2 separate regions of the Homo sapiens genome follow, and region 1 is linked to region 2. Evidence: promoter capture Hi-C in 16 types of primary human blood cells and fetal thymus (Javierre and others, 2016). All regions are on one chromosome and are shown on one strand. The core of a region is centred on a gene start or on the middle of the fragment in contact, and the rest is flanking DNA. Distances in the headings are between cores, read along the strand shown. Region 1 overlaps SEC24D (SEC24 homolog D, COPII component). Region 2 holds the start of SYNPO2 (synaptopodin 2).

What was found. The method cuts DNA at HindIII sites, captures the fragments that hold promoters and counts their contacts. A CHiCAGO score of 5 or more calls a contact.
Region 1: a fragment that was not itself captured here is called in contact with the fragment with the promoter of SYNPO2 in region 2 in 1 of 17 cell types (total B cells); the score reaches 10.2 in total B cells.

The regions. Positions count from the first base shown.
Region 1 is chr4:118,739,530-118,743,661 of GRCh38, reverse strand. It overlaps SEC24D (SEC24 homolog D, COPII component), which reads left to right. Exons shown (of 23, transcript NM_014822.4): 16 at 2,625-2,721; 17 at 2,854-2,999. Among named protein-coding and RNA genes, the nearest start is that of METTL14, 56 kb to the right of the region's middle. The HindIII fragment of the contact is 760 bases long and covers 1,278-2,037 here.
Region 2 is chr4:118,885,455-118,892,034 of GRCh38, reverse strand. It overlaps SYNPO2 (synaptopodin 2), which reads right to left and starts at 3,181. Exons shown (of 5, transcript NM_133477.3): 1 at 2,894-3,181. The coding sequence starts at 2,998. The HindIII fragment of the contact is 15,302 bases long and covers 3,050-6,580 here.

The DNA.
Region 1 (4,132 bases), core at 408-2,907, 150 kb after region 2:
AGGGCACAGTGGCCCAATGCCTGTAATCCCAGTGCTTTGAGAGGTTGAGGTGGGAAGATCACGTGAGGGCGGGAGTTCAAAATCAGCCTGGGCTACATAGCAAGACCCTGTCTCTACAAAAAATTTAAAAATAAGTAACCTACAGGTGATTTAAGGGACACGTAAAATGTGTGTAGGTTATATGCAAATATGCCATTTTATGTCAGGGACTTGAGCATCTGGTGGAGTTTGGTATCTGTGGGAGGTTCTGGATCAAATCCCTCACAGATAACGAGAGACAACTGTGTGTGTGTGTGTGTGTGTGTATATATATATATAGGAACCATATATATTTATGGTTCGGCAATTCCATACTTCCTAAGTGTTTGGTGATAGAATGAGCTCATTCATCCTCAGAGTCAAATATCAATGTGAGCTTTCATAATGGAGAAAAATATATTTTATGTAAAATATACTTAAGATAATGTTTTTAAAAGTGACTGCATATTTGTTTTAAATTATTGGGATTTTAGGGATCAATTCATTACACTTCTCTTTTCCAAGCCTGATTGAGAGAGATATTCAAGAGACAATCAAAATGTCAGCACTATAATGGGCCTGAGTCTGCAGGCAAGTGGGCTTGCTGATTCACCCCTGAATTTCACAAACTTATGCGCCCCGGCACAGAGTGGGCACGATCTGAGTTTCTCCTGTGGACCCCTGTGCCTTGAAAAAAACACTGTATTGAGGGACAGAAAATATGTGCCTCCTGCAGGCAAGCTGCCTTCCTATGGAGAGGACCCAGAAGAGGCTGGGCTGTGCCCACCCAGTTCCTTTTCCCAAACTTATTAATCAGATGAGTCACTCCCCATCACCTAAGGAGAAGGGGTCAGGGGTGTACCTCTAATGTGTGTGCCTGGGCAGGCGTGGAGGCATGGACTGGGAAGGTGTATTCTCCAACATAAATGACAAATGTTAGTCATCATCTGTTTTTATTAATCATCAATAAAATTATGAATAGAGACTAGTTACATATTTCTTTATAAACTAAGGGACTTGATAAGACCAAAGATTGTAAATGAAATAAAATTGAAAAAGCTTTAACAACTCTTTCTAAGACTTCTGGATAAAAGTATGTTTTTTCAGATACACTCTAGAAAATAAACTTTTAATAATCATACAGAATTCTGACCCTTACTGATTCTACCCACATTCTGGGTATTGAGGTACATGAAGCCTACCATGCTAATCAATTTTAGCTCCTTTTCCAGTTAGGGGGATAAATTTCATCAGAAGCTTTCCCCCCCCCACTTTTCCAAAAAGGACTTTATCATCTTCCATTCCTGGCATATGTGAATTGTGCTGGGGTTCTTGCTAGGTCCTTTGCTATGTACTGGTGTGATCATCTACATGGTAGTGACTTGGCTTCAAAGAGCAGCCTACCAAGTGATGTGTAGGCAGGGGGTGCTCTGTGGTGTAATCATCCAGGCTTATTACTTTTTTTTTTCTATTTAAGTTTTTGAGTTACTTGCCAACCCCATGTCATTTCTGATATAAAAGGATATTTACTTGTACCTCAGTGTATCCATAATTATTACTGATTCTTTCAATGTTACTAAAAAAGAAATGTTATAATGCAGCAGAGGAAAAGCCAGTAAGATGTAAACAGGCAGTAAAATATTTTATAATAAAAGAGTGTTAATGTTGCCTATGCTGCCATTCAGTTGTTTGTTTACTCCAGTTGTTGCAAAACTGAATCCTGCCGTAGCATTTCTTTCTTATCTTCAACAATACAAATTTTAATAGTCTTTTCCATTCAATAACATTGTAAGATAAAAATGATGGTCAAGAACTATGCAGGCACCACCCAGTTGTATGTAAGCAACTAAAGGGATTATTGTAAAGATTGTGTCTATGATCTCCCTCTTTCCTTTCCTCCTTCATTCCCTTCGTGTTTGGGACTGGGGGGAAGGGATGAGATGCGTGCGTCAGTGTCTCTCCTATGTGTCAAGTAGTAGTGAGAATTTCCTAAAGAGTTTCACTGACAGATGAGAAGCTTTAGAAGCTCAGCTAGTTTGTTTCCTCTCTTGGGTGACCTCTGAGCTCAGTATTGTGCACATGTGCATATTATATAAATGTTGCTTAGTTGTGGAATGTGGACAGTTTTCAGAAATACGGTGATCGTAGAGTAGTTAACAGGGCTAGGAGAAGGGGTTTCTACTTTCCCTGACATAGCTTCACAAAGCTCTGAATGTGGTCAGACTTAAAAAGCCCCAATTGCAAGGTCTTTCCCTAGCCTCATTAAACGGGTATTATACATTGGGTCTTAACCTTGTCTCTAACCCTAAGCCACTGAGTGGATCACTTATGCTCTCTTAATTTTCCCATTTGCAATTAATAACCGATTTTCTCATCCAAGTGTTAAAATGAAAGAAAATAATAGATGAGATTTTAGTTTCAAAAGTTAAGAAACACTGTCCAAAAATGCTATATTTTCTTTAACCAAAGAAGCATAATATATAATAAAAAAATATGCTAAATCGGGATTTTAAAAATAATTATTATAACTCAGGATTAAAATGAGAACGTTATTTTAAGTATTTTACTGCCATCTGGTGGACATTGATTAGACTTTTATTTTTTAGATGCACTTGGATAGACAACAATTTTTGAACGACCTCAGAAATGATATTGAAAAGAAAATAGGCTTTGATGCTATTATGAGGGTTCGTACCAGCACAGGTAATTATCATTTATACAATTCTTCGGGTCTCTCTTGAATAATTGTTTCTTTTTCAAATTAATAACAGGCCAACAAAGAAAATAACAGTAGAATAAAGACAAGCAAAATTTCCCTTTTTCCCTTATCTTTAGGTTTCAGAGCCACTGATTTCTTTGGTGGAATCTTGATGAACAACACCACCGATGTAGAAATGGCTGCCATCGATTGTGACAAGGCAGTGACCGTGGAGTTCAAGCACGATGACAAACTCAGTGAAGACAGTGGAGCCTTAATCCAGGTGATTGAAAGTGTATTCCCACCTTTCGTTATTTTAGTTTGTTGCCGACAATGATCAGTGGGGAGACTGAAATACCATCAAATGTGTTAGTCTCTTCATAAAAAAATTCAACTCTTTCTCCAAAGTCAAAAGTCAGTAGATTAGAACACTCAGTTGGGAGGTTTCTCCATACTCATTCATATTTGCTACTTATATGAAGTGACAATTATGTGTCATTGCATGCAAGTCCAGCAAATTTGTGGTAAGTATCACAGGCATCAGCAAACTGACTTCCAACGGTATTCACTTCTGTTAGGCTTCAGCACCTATTCACATCTACCATATGAATATTAATTTGCTAGGGCTGCTATAACAAACACTACAGAATAAGCAGCTTAAACAACAGAAATTTATTTTCTCACAGTTCTGGAGGCTGGAATTCCAAGATCAAGGTTTCTGAGGGCCTAGAGGGAAGGATCTGTTCCAGGCCCCTGTCCTTGGTTTGTAGATGGTTTTCTTCTCCCTGTGTCTTCACATCATCTTCCCTCTGTTACATGCCTATATCCAAAGTTTTTCCTCTTATAAGGACACCAGTCATAGTGAATTAGGGTGCACTCTAATGAACTCATTTTAATTAATTTACCTCTTTAAATACCTCATCTCCAAATACTTAGGTACTAGGGGGTTAGGACATTTGAGGAGCCACAGTTCAGCCCGTAATACGATGTTAAGCAAGTGGAATAGGATTTGGCTTTCTTTAAAGTGAAACTAACTAGAAGCCATAGAGACTGAATTAAAACAAGAAAAACTATGACCACTAGATATACATGGTCATAGTTTCCAAACATTGGCATCATCTTTAAAGGATGAAGAGAGGCTGGCATTAGGTTGAAGAAGAACTTTTAACTAAAGTTTATTTTTTAATCACATATATTTGGTGAAATGCTTCTATCTATGCATTCTTCAAATGTATATCATCAGCATAAGACCTAAGTCCATTGTGAAAGCTAGTTGTATGTTTTTAAGAAAGTGAGCCTTGAGTAGGGCTCTGAGCACATGAAGGTATTGTTTCTGCCCCTGGATCCCTGGTAATAAAACATGAGCTATGAAAAATGCAGACTAGTTGTAGAAATGTGAAATAGATATTTACATGT
Region 2 (6,580 bases), core at 1,932-4,431:
ATAACATTAGACTGTTTTTTTGCACTATTTCTGCCTGTTAGATTTTTACTCTATATAGAATTATGAAAAACCTAAATATGTAGATATTTCACAAAAAGCCAAAATGTGTTATTGTCTACAGAACTGCTTTGTAGCATTCCCATTTTAAGGAGCATGGTTCAAGCACTCGCCGAAATTTTCTTTTCTTTGAAAATTTAAGTTTTCCTTCAACTCCCAAATTAATTTTGTGCATGTTATTCAAAACTGTGAACATTTGATTTGACAGCAACCATCTCTCTAGCCTTTCTGTCTCTTTCCTTGCATCCAGCCCTAATAAGCTATCACCAGTCCTTACAAGAAGAGAAAGTTTATGCCCAAGCAACATTCACTTTGCCTTGAACACATTGAGATACCATGAATAGAATTGAATTGACTTAATATTTTAAATAAAATACAGTGATCCTAATGAGGCAATGGCCTTGATAACAGAGAAAGTGATAAGCGCTTTGTTCCAAGGGATTTCTCCCACAAATAATGCTAGTATAAGAAATCAAACATAATCATTTGAACTAAAAAAAGAAAAAGACCAACAAAAATTGTGCATTGCCACAGTAATTTAGAACTTACATCTTCTATAGATAGCTCTTTAGTCTTTTTAACGTATGGACAAAAGGTAGACTGTAGACTACAGTCTGTCTCTCTCTCTCTCTTGCACACACAAACACACAAAAATTAAGGCAAACTTCCAGATACTTTTATAATGATATTTTAAAATCTATAGCTCTAAGTATAGTATCACAAACTACAAAAGCAAAGCAAACATCTAGATGCCTTAATAATGATCTTTTGAAAACCACAAATGTATTGCTGGGTATTTTAGGAAGGATGATTTAGGGGGAGTGTAGGACTGGATTCTGACATAGCCTAACAACCTTACTGAATCCTGAAAATAGAGATGCCATTAGCAGAGAATCTCCACAGCACCCTTTCCTAGCAATCTGCTTCAGCTCTTCAGTGAATCGCCGCAAAGAGGTCCCACATTGAAATCGTCACATGCAGAACTCAGAAGAAACCCACTACCCACTCTATTCTTGAGGCCTGGCTGCCAAAGAGCCACCAGAGAACAACAGCACTCAGCCACTCTGTCCCCATATTTCAATTAGTAGGCAAGCGATTCTAAAACTGTACACTATCAGGATCGTAGAATACTTGGGCAAGACAGAGCTTCGTAGACTGCACAGTCCAATTTCTTTCTTACTTCTTTACCACCTAAGTTAAAATATTTGTCTCTCTCTCCCTACACACACACACACACACACACAGAGAGAGAGAGAGAGAGAGAGAGAGAGAGAGAGAGAAACCGATGAGACAGGAAGGGTGAGAGATTTTCCTAAGGCCAGGCTGCAAGTTAGATCAGAGCTGGAATTAGAACCCAAATCTCATACCTAGAGCCAGCCAACTGCTATTCTAGACTCAGGACAAATCTGCTTCAGTGTCATGAATTCTACATATGCTAAATTGGGCATTCATATTTTATCTGAGGTTGCCTGCTATTGACTCCTAAAGGAACCCAACAAAACCACCTTTCTGAGCCTTTAATCACTCTGCCAGTTCCAAGCTGAAAACTTAAGGCAAGTTACTTAACATCTCTGGGCTCTTTCCTCATCTAAAATTCATGGGTTGAACTGCAGACCTCGGAGGAACTTTCCAGTAATAAAAACTCTGCTTTTCATCTACTGTTTTATGGTTCATTCTTGATGTTTGCAATTTTCACTAGGTGGCAGGATTCCACCATCACATTACGAAAGGATTTACATATGATGCCTGGAAGCAAAAAGGAGTTTCAAAGAAACTTCTTTCTTCGCAAAGGACACTAAAAAAAAAAAAACGTAAAAGGCAGAGGGAAACAATAACTACAAAAAAAAAAGAGTAAAAGCCAGAGGGAAACAAACAATAACTACAAAGGCAATGGCCCATGTATTTCATAAAGATCTGTACCCATTTTTAATATAAGCATAAAATAGGAAATTAATCCCATGCTCTTGCATGTTCTTCAATACAATACTATAATTTGCAATTTGATGATAAGGTTAGGTAAAAGTTTGCTTAGTTTTGTGCATTTTAAGTTTTATTTTAGCTGAATGCCAATTAGAGAATACCAGATCCCCTTGGGCTAACCAGTAATGCAGGCAATCTAATGGCAATAAAAACTTAAAGCATTTTAAATAGTTATTAATGTGTTACAAAGTTACCTCTTAGTTACTCATAATATATTTAGATTATCTTCTAAGTTTATTTTTGAGATCTTGACCAAAAGAGTACATAAGAAGGAATACAGCATTTATTGGATTTTTGCATTTATTTGTCAAATCCTTAAAAGGGTATTCTTTTAAATAGATTTTATGACACTTCATCATACTTTTAAAATTATTGCCCAACATTGGCCTTTTCATGAATGCTGCATAATAAATGTCACTACCAACACTCTATATGAGTCCCCAAAATAGCCAAGCAAAGTCGTTATGCTGAACTGAGCGTTTCTCCTCTGCCAGAGCCAAGTGAAGTGACATCAAACAATAACTCAACTGAACATTCTAAAATTGCCTGGAAGAAACGCTCCCCAGTGTCTTGCTTGTTGTCAGAAGAACATGGTTAACTAGGCCTTTTCCTCAGCTGATAAATATGGCATTCTTCCCACCCACCCCTCATCGATTGCAAGTTAATTACATAGGATGTGGCCCATTACTCTCCAAAGTTTCTTAGAAAATAACTCACTTCCTAGAAAAATCTTAATATCCGCAGCAAAATCAAATAATACTTAGACTTCTGCATCAGAACCTGAAAACACCATCAGCAGGTTGCTTTCATTCCTTCCTTCCTAGCACAGAGCCGTGACACTTCGTTCAGGTCCTACCTTTGCAACTTGTAAGGGCTGCTTCTGCTCCTTGCCACCTTGCAATCTGAACCCCCAGGGCGCCCCTCCAGTCATGGAAATGCAGATAAAATCCCCTGTGCCCATGTTTTCCTTTTAGTTGGGCAGCATGAAGAGCTTGACGAGACAGACGAAGCTTGGGTGCGGTAGAGGATGCGCACTCAGCTTCGGGCGCCTGCCGAGGACGCAAGACTGGGTAATGCAGAGCGTCCGCCGCTGCTGCAGCCGCTGCCCCAGCCGCCGCCCCAGCCGCCTGCTGCGAATTTGTGCGGCTAATGGGCTCATTCTCAAGGAGGCAGAGGCGCTCGCAGCATCCAGGACACAGCCCACTCTTGCGTCACTCTCCTTTGCTCGGCCCACCTTCGAGGAAAGGAAAGCAGCTTCACACACAGGAGAATGTCCTCACGTGGGGCGAGATAAGGGAAAGGAGGACGGAAGGGAGAGCCAAAGTTATCTTGCACTAACAGATTAAATCCAAGCAGTTAATGGTATAAGTATGATTGAAAAACTTACATTTAATAATTCTGTAAATAGTAAAGGACACATGAAGGTTTAATCTCCACGCCATGAATGACGTCCTAAAATAGGAGCGTTGGGAATTCAACTACTAGAGGATTAGATTCTCTCAAATAAATGTTTTGAGACTTGCCACATTTATGAATGGAATAGACAAAAAAGAGTTAAAATGAGTTAAATTACTACTTTTCTGTCTGCATTCTGCTGAATTATTCCTATAAGAGGAAACAAAAGAAAGCACAAACTTTTTGTTAATAAACCTCCAGCTCTGAAAAGTACCTTTCTGAACCATATATTTAGAGAAAGGGGAAGAGAAGAGACAGAAAGGGAGAGAGAAAGAGAGAAAATGAATATGAATTTTTCTCCTGGAAACTACATTCTTATAATTACATCTATTGCATAGTTTTGGGTATGTTAAATTTTAACGTGTTTTGTTTTCTTTCTACCTGCTGATCTTCTTAAACCCAAACCCAACAGTTAGTCAACTGCATAAAATGTACAATGTCACCTACAGGTTTCTTATTTTTATAGTTTGTCATCCCATGTCATGAATCTGGGTGGTCCAATATAAAAGCAGATTTTGTATATTCCAAATATTTAAATGTTTTAAATCTGAATACAATCTGCCAAAAATGTACAAAAAGGACATTTTAATTTTCCTATAATACTTTTGTTTTCCATAACATTCATCCACATAAAAACATACTAAATAAGGAAGAGCCTGGGAAAGTTTGTTTGTGTTACTTGTGGTACCAAACAAAATTTCCAGACACGCTGCCTGTTTCAGCACTAAGAAGCACTATATACAGTAAGTCCTCACTTAAAACGTCACAGATAGGTTCATGGAAACTGTGACTTTAAAACCAATTTTACCATCGACTAATTGATAAAAACAAGGTTAAGTGACTACAGTCTATTTCTGGTCACAAAGACATCACCAAACTTTTAAATAAGATTAAAACACTTCTAATATTAAACATGGAAATAAATGTCAGCTACACATGCATTTAAGAAAGATTAATAAAAACAAGATAATCATGGACCCAATTTTTGGTGAATCAGTGAGTGAGGGCAGCTGTAGTGGTGGTGGATTCAATCAAGGAATAAATGTTTGCAAAAGGAAAATTATAAGGAGTACCTCCTGTCACAATGCAGTTCAAAACCACCACAAATATAGCAGGCTCACTGAGAAATTTCATACAGCATCATCTATTGCTGTGCATTTGTGTGATTAACATATATTTTATGAATTTTTTTTGAAAATAATTTGCATCCATACATTCATTCCTCCTCCAACCCACTTATTCCCATTCAGGATCTCCAGTGGCTTGAGCCTCTCCCTGCAGCTTAGGGCGCAAGGCAGGAATCAGCCCTGGACAGCCCTGACCATCCCATCAGAGGGTGCACACACACACACACACACACACACACACACACACACTCACTCAGATGGGGACCATTTAGACATGCCAGTTCATCTCATGAGCACAGCTTTGGGATGTGGCAGGAAACCAGAGGACCTGGAGAAAACCTATACAGACATGGGGAGAACTTTCAAACTCCATACAAACAGTGGCCCCAGCTGGAAATACATTTTTTTTTCTCATCAATGTTGTCATGAAACAATGTTGAATAAAATGGCATTATTCAAGGACCTGTGGTACAATGAACATTTTACACAGCCCATGCTCCCCAGAAGCCAAAGGCATCAAGTGATTTTATTTGTGACTCATCACTGGAGTGAGGACAATGAAATCAGAGATTGTGGCACTGGAAGAGACCCTTTGAAGGTCATGAGGGCCAGATACTCATCCCAAGTTTGATTCTTTTCAGAAACACGAATTGACTTTCCCAGTCTTTCCTTTAAACAATAGTTACAAGAGACATCATAAAATATGAGCTTTGACACTAATTACAATAGCAAAGACTTGGAACCAACCCAAATGTCCATCAGTGATAGACTGGATAAAGAAAATATGGCACATATACACCATGGAATACTATGCAGCCATAAAAAAAGAATGTGTTAATGTCCTTTGCAGGGGACATGGATGAAGCTGGAAGCCATCATTCTCAGCAAACTAGCACAGGAACAGTAAACCAAACACCACATGTTCTCACTCATAAGTGGGAGTTGAACAATGAGAACACATAGACACAGGGAGGGAAACATCACACACTGAGGCCTGTCGGAGGGTGGGGTACAAAGGGAGGGAGAGCATTACGACACATAACGCATGCGGGGCTTAAAACCTAGATGACGGGTTGATAGGTGCAGCAAACAACCATGGCACATGTATACCTATGTAACAAACCTGCATGTTCTGCACATGTATCCCAGAACTTAAAGTAAAAATTTTTAAAAAATGAGCTCTGAGAACAAAGAAAAAAAACACTTTCATATTTGTTCTTTTTACTTTTTCATGTCCCTTCTGCTCCTCAATCCACTCAAGTCTAGCTTCAAATTAGTGATGGTGTCCTCCTTAAATCATTTCTCCCTTAGGCTTCTTGGGCCCAGCAAGCTCTAGGCTTTCTTCTTGCCTCTGTAGCCACTCTTATCAAAGATTTATTCTGTGCAGGAACTTGAAATATAATGTTGTATTTATTTTCAAAGCAACCATGCTAGATAGGTATTAGTGTTTCTCTTTTACTGATAATTAACAGTGCTTTAAATCCTAAGCGATAGAGCCAGGGTTTGAACTTTTGTCTGCCCGAATTTGTCTGCCCTAATACCTATTCTTAATCATTGCTATTCTGCCTCCAGGTCTTATGTATTCCCTGATGCTTATCTCATGCAACCAATTATCCATTAAGACCTATGGATCTGGCTATGCGCAGTGCTGCATGCCTGTAATCCCAGCATTTGGGGAAGACAAGGTGGGCAAGGTGGGTGGATCACTTGAGGTCAGGAGCTCAAGACCAGCCTGGCCAACATGGTGAAACCCCATCTCTACCAAAAGTACAAAAATTAGCTGGGCGTGGTGGTGCACACCTGTAATCCCAGCTACTCGGGAGGCTGAGGCAAGAGAATTGCTTGAACCTGGGAGGCAGAGGTTGCAGTGAGCCGAGACCGTACCACTGCACTCCAGCCTGGGCAATAGAGCAAGACTCCATCTGAGAAAGAAAAAAAAAAAAAAAGACCTATGGATCTAA